Linked DNA regions of Homo sapiens: region 1 is linked to region 2. Evidence: promoter capture Hi-C in human tissues and cell types (Jung and others, 2019). All regions are on one chromosome and are shown on one strand. The core of a region is centred on a gene start or on the middle of the fragment in contact, and the rest is flanking DNA. Distances in the headings are between cores, read along the strand shown.

Region 1 (5,353 bases), core at 2,092-4,591, 40 kb before region 2:
AATTGATATGTTGGAAATATCCAAAACCCTTATGAGGCTTACCATTTACTGCTTGCTCTGGCCCTTGGTTACCCCTCAACTTCCACTGTCCTTCACTTACTTCATTTAAGACACCCTGATCTCTTCCATATCTTCAGACATACCAAGCATACTAATTAACTGCATTTGCTATTCCTCCTGCATGAAGAAATCCACAGTTTCCTCCCTTACTTCACTCAAGCCCCAATTCAAATGTTACCTTCAGATAGGTCTTTGGCCCTTCCCATCTCAGTGAGCAGCCTTCTGTTTCCAACCTCAAATTCTATTTCCAAGTTCTAGTCTTTTTTCTCCATAGCAGATACCACCATCTGGTAGTATTTTTAAAAATGGTTTGCCTGACTTTCCACCAAACTCAATCTTAACTCCTTAAATGGTGACATTGGCTCTGTTTCATTTCCTGTGACACTCAGTGTTCATTATCTCCTTATCACTTAGAAAGTATACAATATCAGTTGAATTAATTAATGAATGAAAGAAAGAAAGAAGAGCTAGCTGACTATATTGAGGCACAATATGGTAGCTGATCTGGCTAGAATCACTAAGAAATGTTTGATATAATTAAGGGGCATAGTCAACAAAATTTGTTAAGGCAGTCAATTTATTTAGTTGATAGAAGATTTAAAAAATTCAGGTAAGATGTAATCTCAGACTTCCAGGATGAGGTTAGAAAATGTCTCCCTGAAAAACTAAAGTCAATAATGAATTATATACATCGAATGATATTAGAAATATAAAAAGTAAAACCCACTCCCCAAGGAGGCATATTTGGGCTAGGAAATGAATAGCATATTGGAAAGAGCAATATTTGTATTTGGAAGATCTAGATTTAAACTTGAACTCTGCCATTTGCTACCTGTGCTCTCACCTTCTCTTTCTTCTCTTTTTTCTTTTATTTATTTTTCTTTCCCTTCTTTGTTTGACTCATATTTATAAAATGCTACTTTGAGCCTAGAATTTGGCTGGTGGCAAAAAGGAAAGTGCATATGGTGGGGAAGAGAGGGAACACTAAGCAGGGACTTAAAGGGAAATGGCATTTCAGGCTAAGATAGAATACACTGTGTCATGATGGTGAGAAAGAAGAAAGCCTATGAGAAGAATTACAACCCCCCAATCTATGTATCTAGCTGAACTAAGATTTCAAGCATAAATGTCCAATTCCAAAAGAAGAAGAGTATAAAGAGACAATGCCAACAGGTAAGATTTTAAAAGATCAAGGGAATTCTACAAGGGAAACAAGCAGTGCTTAGAGAAGTGTGACACCTAGGAGTTCGTAGTGTCCAGCAAGAAAGGAATTGAGAATCTCAGAAAAGAAAGATAAAGAGAGCCAAATATATCTACTAAGATTTGAGCTGAAAAAAAAAATAAGGACAAAGTGAGTAACATGGAAGAATAAGAAACCCAAGCCCTCATTCCTTCATACAGACACCAAATCAACAACAATATGTGCCCCAAAAAACCTCTATGAGAACTGCAGAAACGAGTTAGGAAGTCACAGTACCCCAGACAAGCCCAAAACCAAGAATAGCTGCATTAAAATGGGTAAGAAGAGTCATTTTATTTCAGCCATGCCAGCCCCTTCCCCAAGCTAGCACAGGGCAATGGGAGTAAAATCCCAATTTGAAACTTCTCCTTGAGAGAGAAAGGAAGAGTAGAAATTAATTTTCAAGGGGGTGCCTGAGGTGCTGGTTTCTGTCTCGCCTGACTCAGCAATTATAAGGAATTGCTATTACTTGGGATGCCTGGAGCTGCTGAAAACAACACAGAGCTCAGCAGCTTATGGCACTACCGGAAAAATTGTAATGCCACAGACAGAAGCTGCCACAGCTCACTGAGATCAGGAGAAATTACCCAGCTAGTAGCTTCTCCCTTGGGAACAAAAGAGAAGAGTGGAACAAGTATTCAATGTTCCAACTTTCTGAAGGGCTGTTCAACAAACTGGTTTCTGTCTTGTCTGATTCGGATTGCTTACAGAACTGGCATACTTTAGATGCCTAGAACCTCAGAAAACAAAAGAGAGCTCATCAGCTTGTTGCAGTACCACAGACAGACAACAGAGGAAGCAAGAGACCACAAGCCCCTGAAAAAGAAATGAGAAAACTTCTCTAATAGGGAAATTACACGTGCTTATTTTTATACCAGTACCATGCTATTTTGATAACTATAGCCTTGTATTATATAGTTCGAAGCCAGGTAATGTGATGCCTCCAGATTTGTTCTTTTTGGTCTTGCTTTGGCTATGCAGGCTCTTTTTTGGTTCCATATGAATTTTAGGATTTTTTTTTTTTTTTTTTAGTTCTGTGAAGAATGATGATAGTATTTTGATTGGAATTGCACTGAATCTGTAGATTGCTTTTGGCAGTATGGTAATTTACACAATATTGATTCTACCCATCCAGAGCATGGAAGCTGTTTCCATTTGTTTGTGTCATTTATGATCAGCAGTGTTTTGTAGTTTTTCTTATAGAGATCTTTTTCCTCCTTCCAGAGCAATCAGACAAGATAAAAATATAAAGGGCATCCAAACTGGAAAAGAGGAAGTCAAACTGTTGCTGTTTGCTGATGATATACCTAGAAAACCATAAAGACCCTAAAAAGCCTCCAAATCTGATAAATAAATTCAGTAAAGTTTCAGGATACAAAATCAATGTACACAAATCAGTAGCATGATAATAATAAAATACTTAGGAACATAATTCATTATTTTATCTGTTACATTTTGTTTCTTCTTTATTGAACTTTGTCTTATTTGTCTAGCTTCTGATGTTGAATTTTCCATTTGCTTCCATTCCTTGTTGTTCCATTCAAAATTATAATTATTTTCTACTAGGAATGTTACTAAGAATATAGCTTTGATCATATATTATTAGAGTAAAAATTTTTTGGAGCTGTGTTCAATAGCTGTTATATATCTCTTCCACGTAAGATTTCCTTAGGAGTATACCTTTCACAAATTTCAAAATGGTTTGGCATTTTTTGTTTAAATTTCTTAAAATTAATTTCTAACTTTATTAAATTATAATCTGTGACAGTGATGTACGTTTTCCTTTTGGCATTTATTAATGCTTGTTTGATTTTAACATTAAAGATACTTTAAGAATCTTTTAAGATTTTTTCTTAAGATTTAAATCTTTTTCTTTAAGATTTAAATTTTTTTAAGATTCTTAAAAAAATCTTTTAGTCTTGTCTACTTGGACAAGGCAGCTAACAGTTAAGCAAAAAAAAAAAAAAGGAAGCAGAAATCATATCAGGTTTAAGTGAGGAGTGAGGAAGAAATGCAAACAAGCTGATACAGATTTCCTTGAGCGTCAATTAACTATCTCTTAAATGCAGACGATACTCCACATGTAAGGATTATATGATACAGTGCTTAATTAGGTATAAAGATAGTTCCATGAATTGAATGGCTGCTCCCCACAAAAGACATGTTTAACTTGAACTTACGAATGTTCCAGTTACTTGGAAATTGGGTCTTTGCAAATGTAGTTAAGTTAAAGATCTCAAGACATTGTCCTAAATTAGAATATGCCTTCAATCCAGTGACAAGTGTCCCTAGAATAGAGGAAACATGGGTAAGAAGGCAATTTGAAGATGGAGACAGAGACTGGAGTGATGTGTCTACTAGTCAAGAAACACAAAGGATTACTGGCACCCACCAGAAGCTAGGAGAGGCATAAAATGGTTTTGCCCTCAGAGCTTTAAGAAGGAACCAACCCTGAACTCACCTTCATTTCGGGCTTCTGGCCTCCAGACTGGGAGAAAAAATAGTTCTGTTGTTTTAAACCACCAAGTTTGTGGTAATTTGTTAATGGCAGCACTAGAAAACTGAGCTAGATAGACAATAGTAAGATAACATTGTAGAGATATAGAGAGCTGGCACACAGATCTCTAATACATGGAAATGCCGTTAAATGTTCTATTCCTTCTATTGAGATGGAAATCATTGAAGAAATGGCATTGTTCTGATACTGTGCTCGCTGAGCAACTTATTTTAAGCTTCAGTTCATTCATACTCTCTACCATTGGCCAGAGCGAAGGCTTTCCTTTTTGTGTGTATTTATGACCTTTGGTCTCTATTCCCATTTCCTTCACCTCCTATAGGCATCTATTCTAACATGTTTGATGCTTACCTTTTTATTTGCATGTGTTCTTTTAAAATATTCAGCTTTTCCTCATTTACTACTCTCTTTCAAAATTGTCTTTCCTATTTCTTGCTCTCTATTCTTCCATATCAATTTTAGAATAAGTTTATCATGCTCCTTATAAAAGATAGGTTTTGATTGGAATTTCATTGAATTTATAATTAATAAGAGAATGCACATACACATCTTTATCATATTAAGCCATCCCATTGAAGATTATTCTTTTTATTCAAATTTATTTATGATTTATTATTTATTAATTTATTATTCTCTTTTTATTCAAATTTTAAAATATACTTTAATAGAGCTTTTGAATTTTCTTCATAAATGTTTTATATATTTTTTAATATGTTTATTCCTATAAGGTCTATGAATTTTGTGGCTATTGTAAATACTTTATTTCTGGTTATATTTTCTAGATGGTCATAGTATAGAGAAATGTTATTGATTGTTAAATGTTGAGGTTCTGTCTGGCAATTTTGCATATGCATTCTGAATTTGTCTCTTGATTCTGTTGGATTTTTTTCCTGTGTAGATGTACTGGGTTGAACAGTGTTCCCCCAAAATTTATATCCACCCTCTCCCTAAGACTGTCACTCTTTTTGAAACAGGGTCTTTGCCAATGTAATTAGTGAAAATGAGGTCATAGTGGATTAAGTGGGCCTTAAATCCAATGACTAATGTCCTTATAAGAAGGCCATGTAAAGACACACAGATGAAGAATTCAGCCATGTGATAATGAAGACAGTGATTGGAGTGCTGTGTCAAGAAGCCAAGAATGTCAAGGATTCCCAGCAACCACCAACACTAGGAAAGAGGCACAGAACAGATTGCCCCTCAGAGCCTCCTGAAGGAACCCTGCTGACACCTTGACATTGGACTTCTGGTCTCATGAAATGTGAGAGAATAAATTTCTACTGTTTCAAGTCACCCAGTTTGCGGTAATTTGTTATGTCATCCCTAGGAAACTGACATACAAGTTGAGCACCCCTAATCCAAAAATCCAAAATCTGAAATGCTCCCAAATCCAAAACCTTTTGAGCACAAACATGACATAACAAGTGGAAAATTCCACACCTGACCTCACGTGACAGGTCACAGTTAAAACTTTGTTTTATGCACAAAGTTATTTAAAATATTATATAAAATAAACTTCAGACGATGTGTATAAAGTG
Region 2 (5,302 bases), core at 900-3,399:
ACTTTAGTCCACAGAGCTACTAAAGTGAAAAAGAATGATCCAAAATTCATGTCCTTCATTCCAGAATTCTTTCTAGTTGTCCATTTTCCAAACTTTGAGACCTCTGATCTAGACAAAATAAAAGTAGTCATTTATAATTTTAATGCCCATGTTAATGCCACTCTATTGTCAAAAATCAGGTTGTTGGAGGTATTTTAAATCATTTTAAAGGTGCTTGAATTATTTAATAATATCTCCATCCCATTTATTCTGACCTGTGACAAATCTAAAGGGTTAAATTGTCAAAACAGACTAGCCAGAATCACAGATCTTACATAGCACCAAACTTTATTAATGATTCGTTGGCTACAAGCCGCCATCAGGAATAAACAAAACATTCATTTTGGGAAAAACCCCAAACTGTCAGACACAGCATCCAAACAAAACAGACCATTTTTCTCCTGCAGTTGGCATATTTTGGTTTTGCATTTACAAGTAATTTTTGAGCATTGTCTGCAAAAACATTTCTCACAAAAAGAAGGCAGTTTGGTTTGGGGACATCTTCGTTCCACATTCTCTTACAGAGCTTACATAGCACCTCTCTCTCCATTCTCCAGCCAGCCTGCTAAATTCCAGGCTTATTTACAATAAGCAATCTAGACAGACCAGAAATGTCCTGCTAAAAAAGTTTCATAAATAGGGACTCCCTGGTATCTTTCCACTGATAAATACTATGAGATTTATACGAAAGTCTGGTGAGGTCATTTTTTCCTCTGCAGGTCTTAGGAAGGGAAAAAATTAGTCACAGGCTGGCTGTTAACACCTTCCCTTCCTTTGGCTTAGCTTCTATGCTTATACCCAAAGTTCAAAATGTAATCAATTACAGGATTACAGGATTATCTGAAAAGTTCCTAAAATGGCCCTATACATATTTGATAATCTATTCAGAATTATTTCTGAAGCAATAATGGAACCAAAACACCCCCCACCATTTTTTAACAAAAATAAATAGCTTTGTGTTTCCAGGCCATATAAGTCAAATCATGTATTCAATTACGTTATTTATTAGGTAAGTTTATTTTTGATAAAATGGTTGAATCTAAAATTAAAACTTCTAATTTATTTTAAAAATCCATAAGGGAACTGCGATTTTGGTAATATGAAATCTAAATTAAAATGCTTTCTTCATAAATACTTAAAGGCTTTTTTCTGTATTAACTGTAATAAACGTATCTTAAAATACATAACTAGTATCTCAAGGAAATTTCCAGATTGCAAAAATACAGAGGGCAAGAAGTATTTGATGGGTTGACTTAGGCTGCCCTGGGTGTGGGTGTGTACCTTGTTGCATAAAGGCTTTGGTTTTAATTTGAAACTGCAGAAGATAAGTGCTCTCATTAAAAACAAAAACAAAAACAGAACCCCTTTAAAAAAAATCATGCGTCTTTGGTGCACTAAAAAATCTCATCCAACAGCATAGAACATCAACTTTGTCTGGGCTCCGGGCAAAGGGGAAAAAAAAGTTCTCTTTAACAAATCTTAGTCTTGTATCTTTGCCTCACACAGGTTTGGGGTCAAAAGTGACACACACACACACAGAGGCAGAGTAGAATAAGCAGATTTTTTTTTGTTTAGCCATGTGGAAATCAACCACCAGAAGAACAGAAAAAGAAAGCTTAAAAATAGTGGCCTAACATTGCAGGACCAGAGAAGGGGATTTTGAGGAGTGAATGAGTTGCTTCATATCATAAGCCCTCATGGATTTTTTTTAATCATTTCCATATTACTTTGCATAAAGTTAGACAGATAAAGATAAGTAGGTGGGTAATTAGAAGGAAAAAAAAAGAAAGAAAACAATGTGTTGTGTGATCACATTTAAACCATTCAAATCAACTATGAAGCTGTGTTTAATCCTCTACTTCTAAATTATTCACAAGATCATTTTGACTCCCTAAAGTTCATAAACAGAGTGCAAATCACCCAAGCAGAAGTATTTTGCTGCTTTTAAGCCAAAGCCCTGACTAGCTAAGGAGTTGCCTGTAGGAATTAACCAGAACAAAATCCTGATTAAACAGCTAATTGGCTTGTCTACTAAAGAAAAGGAAAACAAAGTACATTTCTCTACCTTAAGGCACAGTCATAAATACAGAGGGTTTTCAGAACCACCTCAGAGAAGATGTTTAAATCGCTGACAAAAGTCAACAAGGTGAAGCCTATAGGAGAGAACAATGAGAATGAACAAAGTTCTCGTCGGAATGAAGAAGGCTCTCACCCAAGTAATCAGTCTCAGCAAACCACAGCACAGGTATGTCCTCTACATTCCTATGCAAGCCTTGATTTTCATCATTTCTTATCTGGTAATAGCATTTAATCACTGCTACGATATATGATTGTTTAGTAGTTTTACCTGGCACCATCTGGTACATGTACTGTGTCGGGCTTATCTTCATTAATTTATATATTCTGTATGTATTTGTTCATAAAAAGAATAATAAATGTTTAGGAGACTATACTAGGATTTGGAAAAGCCAAGTAAGACTTCTCATTGCTGATTTTCACTTCTACCATCATCCAAAATGAAACCATTTCTCAAATATTAAATTGGTTACTTGATTGAGTTTCAACAAAGAACATCAAGTATCCTGGTCTTCATAAACCACATGTTAACAATAAATCTCTAGAGCAATAGGAAACCTATTGGCTCTCAATTGAGAGCGATTTTACCACTCAAGGGACATTTGGCAAATCTGGGGACACTTTCAGTTGTCATAGCTCCGGGGTGGGGATGTTACTGGCATCCAGTGGGTAAAGTCTGCAGATGCTGCTCAACATCCTATCATGTACAGGACAGCCCTCCACAACGTAGAATTATACACTACAAAATTTTAATACTGCCAAGGTGGAGGAACTTTAAACAAGCCTTTTCACAAGTTCTAAATATATTTTTCTGCAAAATGTATATGATAATTTCTGCTTTGTTATGAGAACTAGAGACAGTAATATATAAAGCACATGGTAGGTACTTTACAAGTGGCTATTATTATTATTAATAAGAATTTGTGTTTCTGTGACAGGTTTAAGTCCTAAGTGATCATTACAAGAGCAATATTTACTTAGAACTATCCACAGAATAATTTTCGTGAATTACTCACTAGAATTATCTAAAAGAGCTACAGAAGATTTTTAGAGCAGTAGTTATTTTGCCATCTGAAACAGCTGGATGAGAGATGACAAGTACAAGCAGGAGTGCTCCTCAGGGACTAGGGGAGCATAGTCCAATGGTTCGGGTTTAAATGAGCCTAGAGGATAGACAACACTGAGACTATTTAACATGGGCCGTGGAAAATCTGCCTTCCTTTTCTGATTAATGTTGACTGCTTTGCAGTAGAGAGGAGATGAGGAGGACTGTGTTAGTATTGCTTCGAGAGAGTGCCCTTGACTTCTTTCTAATTCTTATGTCAAAATAAATAATCCCACACTAAGTTATCTATATGTTTAAGAACTCATACAATGTCACAAATATTGAGCTGGTACTTTCCTTCAGCTAGTCTTGCTGTGTTTTGCTCTGGGAAAGTCACTACATCCATCTTTAACCCTTGCCTACTGTGATTATTTTCCAAGGGAGCACATAAAAACCGTTAATAGCTAATATATTATTCTCTTGGAGAACATTGTAACTAACAGCAATTACTATTTGCCAAGCAAGGTGCTAAGCCCTTTTCTAGGGCTACTGTATTTAATCCTCACAACAGTCACAGGTCCTATTACAATTTGCTCCTTACACATAGCTAGCAAATGGCAGAGCCTGGATTGGAACCAAGTCCTATCTGAATTCAGCACCTGAGAGCTAAATCACTAGGCTATACTGCTCAAAACAGGAGGGATATTAGTTGAGTCAACCCTTTAAGATACTTTGCCTGCAGGATAAACGGAAATTAGAGAGAAGGCGAAAAAAGAAGAGAAACTTCTTAAAGAGTTATCTTTCCTTTCAAAACAGGAATATTGGAGAAGTACTTAGATTAGGCACAGGTAGAGCACCCCTTAGGTATATCCCATGCCATTCCAACAGCCATAATTTGTGGATATTAATCGCGAAGTCTACTGGCATCACATTAGATTTTTTTTTTTTGTTTTTTTTGAGACAGAGTCTCATTCTGTCGCCCAGGCTGGAGTGCAGTGGTGCAATCTTGACTCGCTGCAACCTCTGTGTCCTGGGTTCAAACGATTCTCCTGCCTCAGCCTCCCGAGTAGCTGGGATTACAGGCACATGCCACCACACCCAGCTCATTTTTTTGTATTTTTAGTAGAGACGGGGTTTCACCATGTTGGCCAGGCTGGTCTCAAACTCTCGGCCTCAGGTGTTCCGCCCACCTTGTCCTTGCAAAGTGTTGGGATTACACGCATGAGCCACTGTGCTCAGCCACATTATATCTTAAAAGTCATATTTGGGCAATTATTTGCATCTGTTCTTTCCAAGAACATGTGGGTATGGGAAAAAATAGTTTATCTCCAATTTCAAATATGCTAAATGTTAAAAATGACAGAAAGTTAAAATCCTGTTTTCTTTCACGGAATTCGACCTTTCAAAATGGCATTTAAACAATAAGCCTCTGAACTATGAATAAATGATTAGAGTCTTATAAGCAAATATCTAGGAATAAATATATCAATGTATGTTGTGTTTTTTAAAGAGTCATTTAAAGAGCTCATTTACACACCAAAATGTCATGGGTAATTCTCACCTATCAATAAACAATAATTTAAGAACTGCAAATCAGTCTAATCCAAACTCTCTCTTACCCCAGAAGAAGACACTCTTCACATAAATCTACATTTGTATACACATAAAGACTATGATATAAATATTTATGAATAACATCATAACGATGCAAAAGGACTTGATTGAAGTCAGAAGGCTTTTTCACTGTTTATAAATAGTCCTGGACTTATACCTTTCTAGCTACGTTCATATAAACTAGCCACTCAATCAATTTCATATTCAATAATATAATAATATTAATAATAATAGCTGCCTTGCCTAATGTATATGGTTATTGTGAGGCTTAAGTGAAAATCAGCCAATTAATTTATTTTTTAGTTTAAAATGCTTCTATGAAACACAAGGCTTATAAATAATGTCAAAACTCTATAGCAGGCACACAAGACTCTCAGTGTCCTTCTGGTCCCTGCCTACTCTCAAGCCTCATCTACTCACCCTTTGTCCCATCCAACCACTCCTACTGTAGTCTCTCCCCACCTATGTACAGTCACGCCTTTGGCTTTTGCTAAACCTGCATCATCTGCCTGGAATATTTTCTAAGTC

The links. The method cuts DNA at HindIII sites, captures the fragments that hold promoters and counts their contacts. A contact is called where the count stands out against the background at its distance.
Region 1: a contact is called between a fragment that was not itself captured here and the fragment with the promoter of CNGB3 in region 2, in 3 of the 25 tissues and cell types used here (H1 embryonic stem cells, mesendoderm cells and neural progenitor cells).

What each region holds. Positions count from the first base shown.
Region 1 is chr8:86,782,108-86,787,460 of GRCh38, reverse strand. It overlaps CNGB3-AS1 (CNGB3 antisense RNA 1), which reads right to left. Exons shown (of 5, transcript XR_001745726.1): 5 at 3,487-3,588. Among named protein-coding and RNA genes, the nearest start is that of CNGB3-AS1, 22 kb to the right of the region's middle. The HindIII fragment of the contact is 7,048 bases long and covers 1-5,353 here.
Region 2 is chr8:86,740,481-86,745,782 of GRCh38, reverse strand. It overlaps CNGB3 (cyclic nucleotide gated channel subunit beta 3), which reads left to right and starts at 2,149. Exons shown (of 18, transcript NM_019098.5): 1 at 2,149-2,284. The coding sequence starts at 2,156. The HindIII fragment of the contact is 5,975 bases long and covers 556-5,302 here.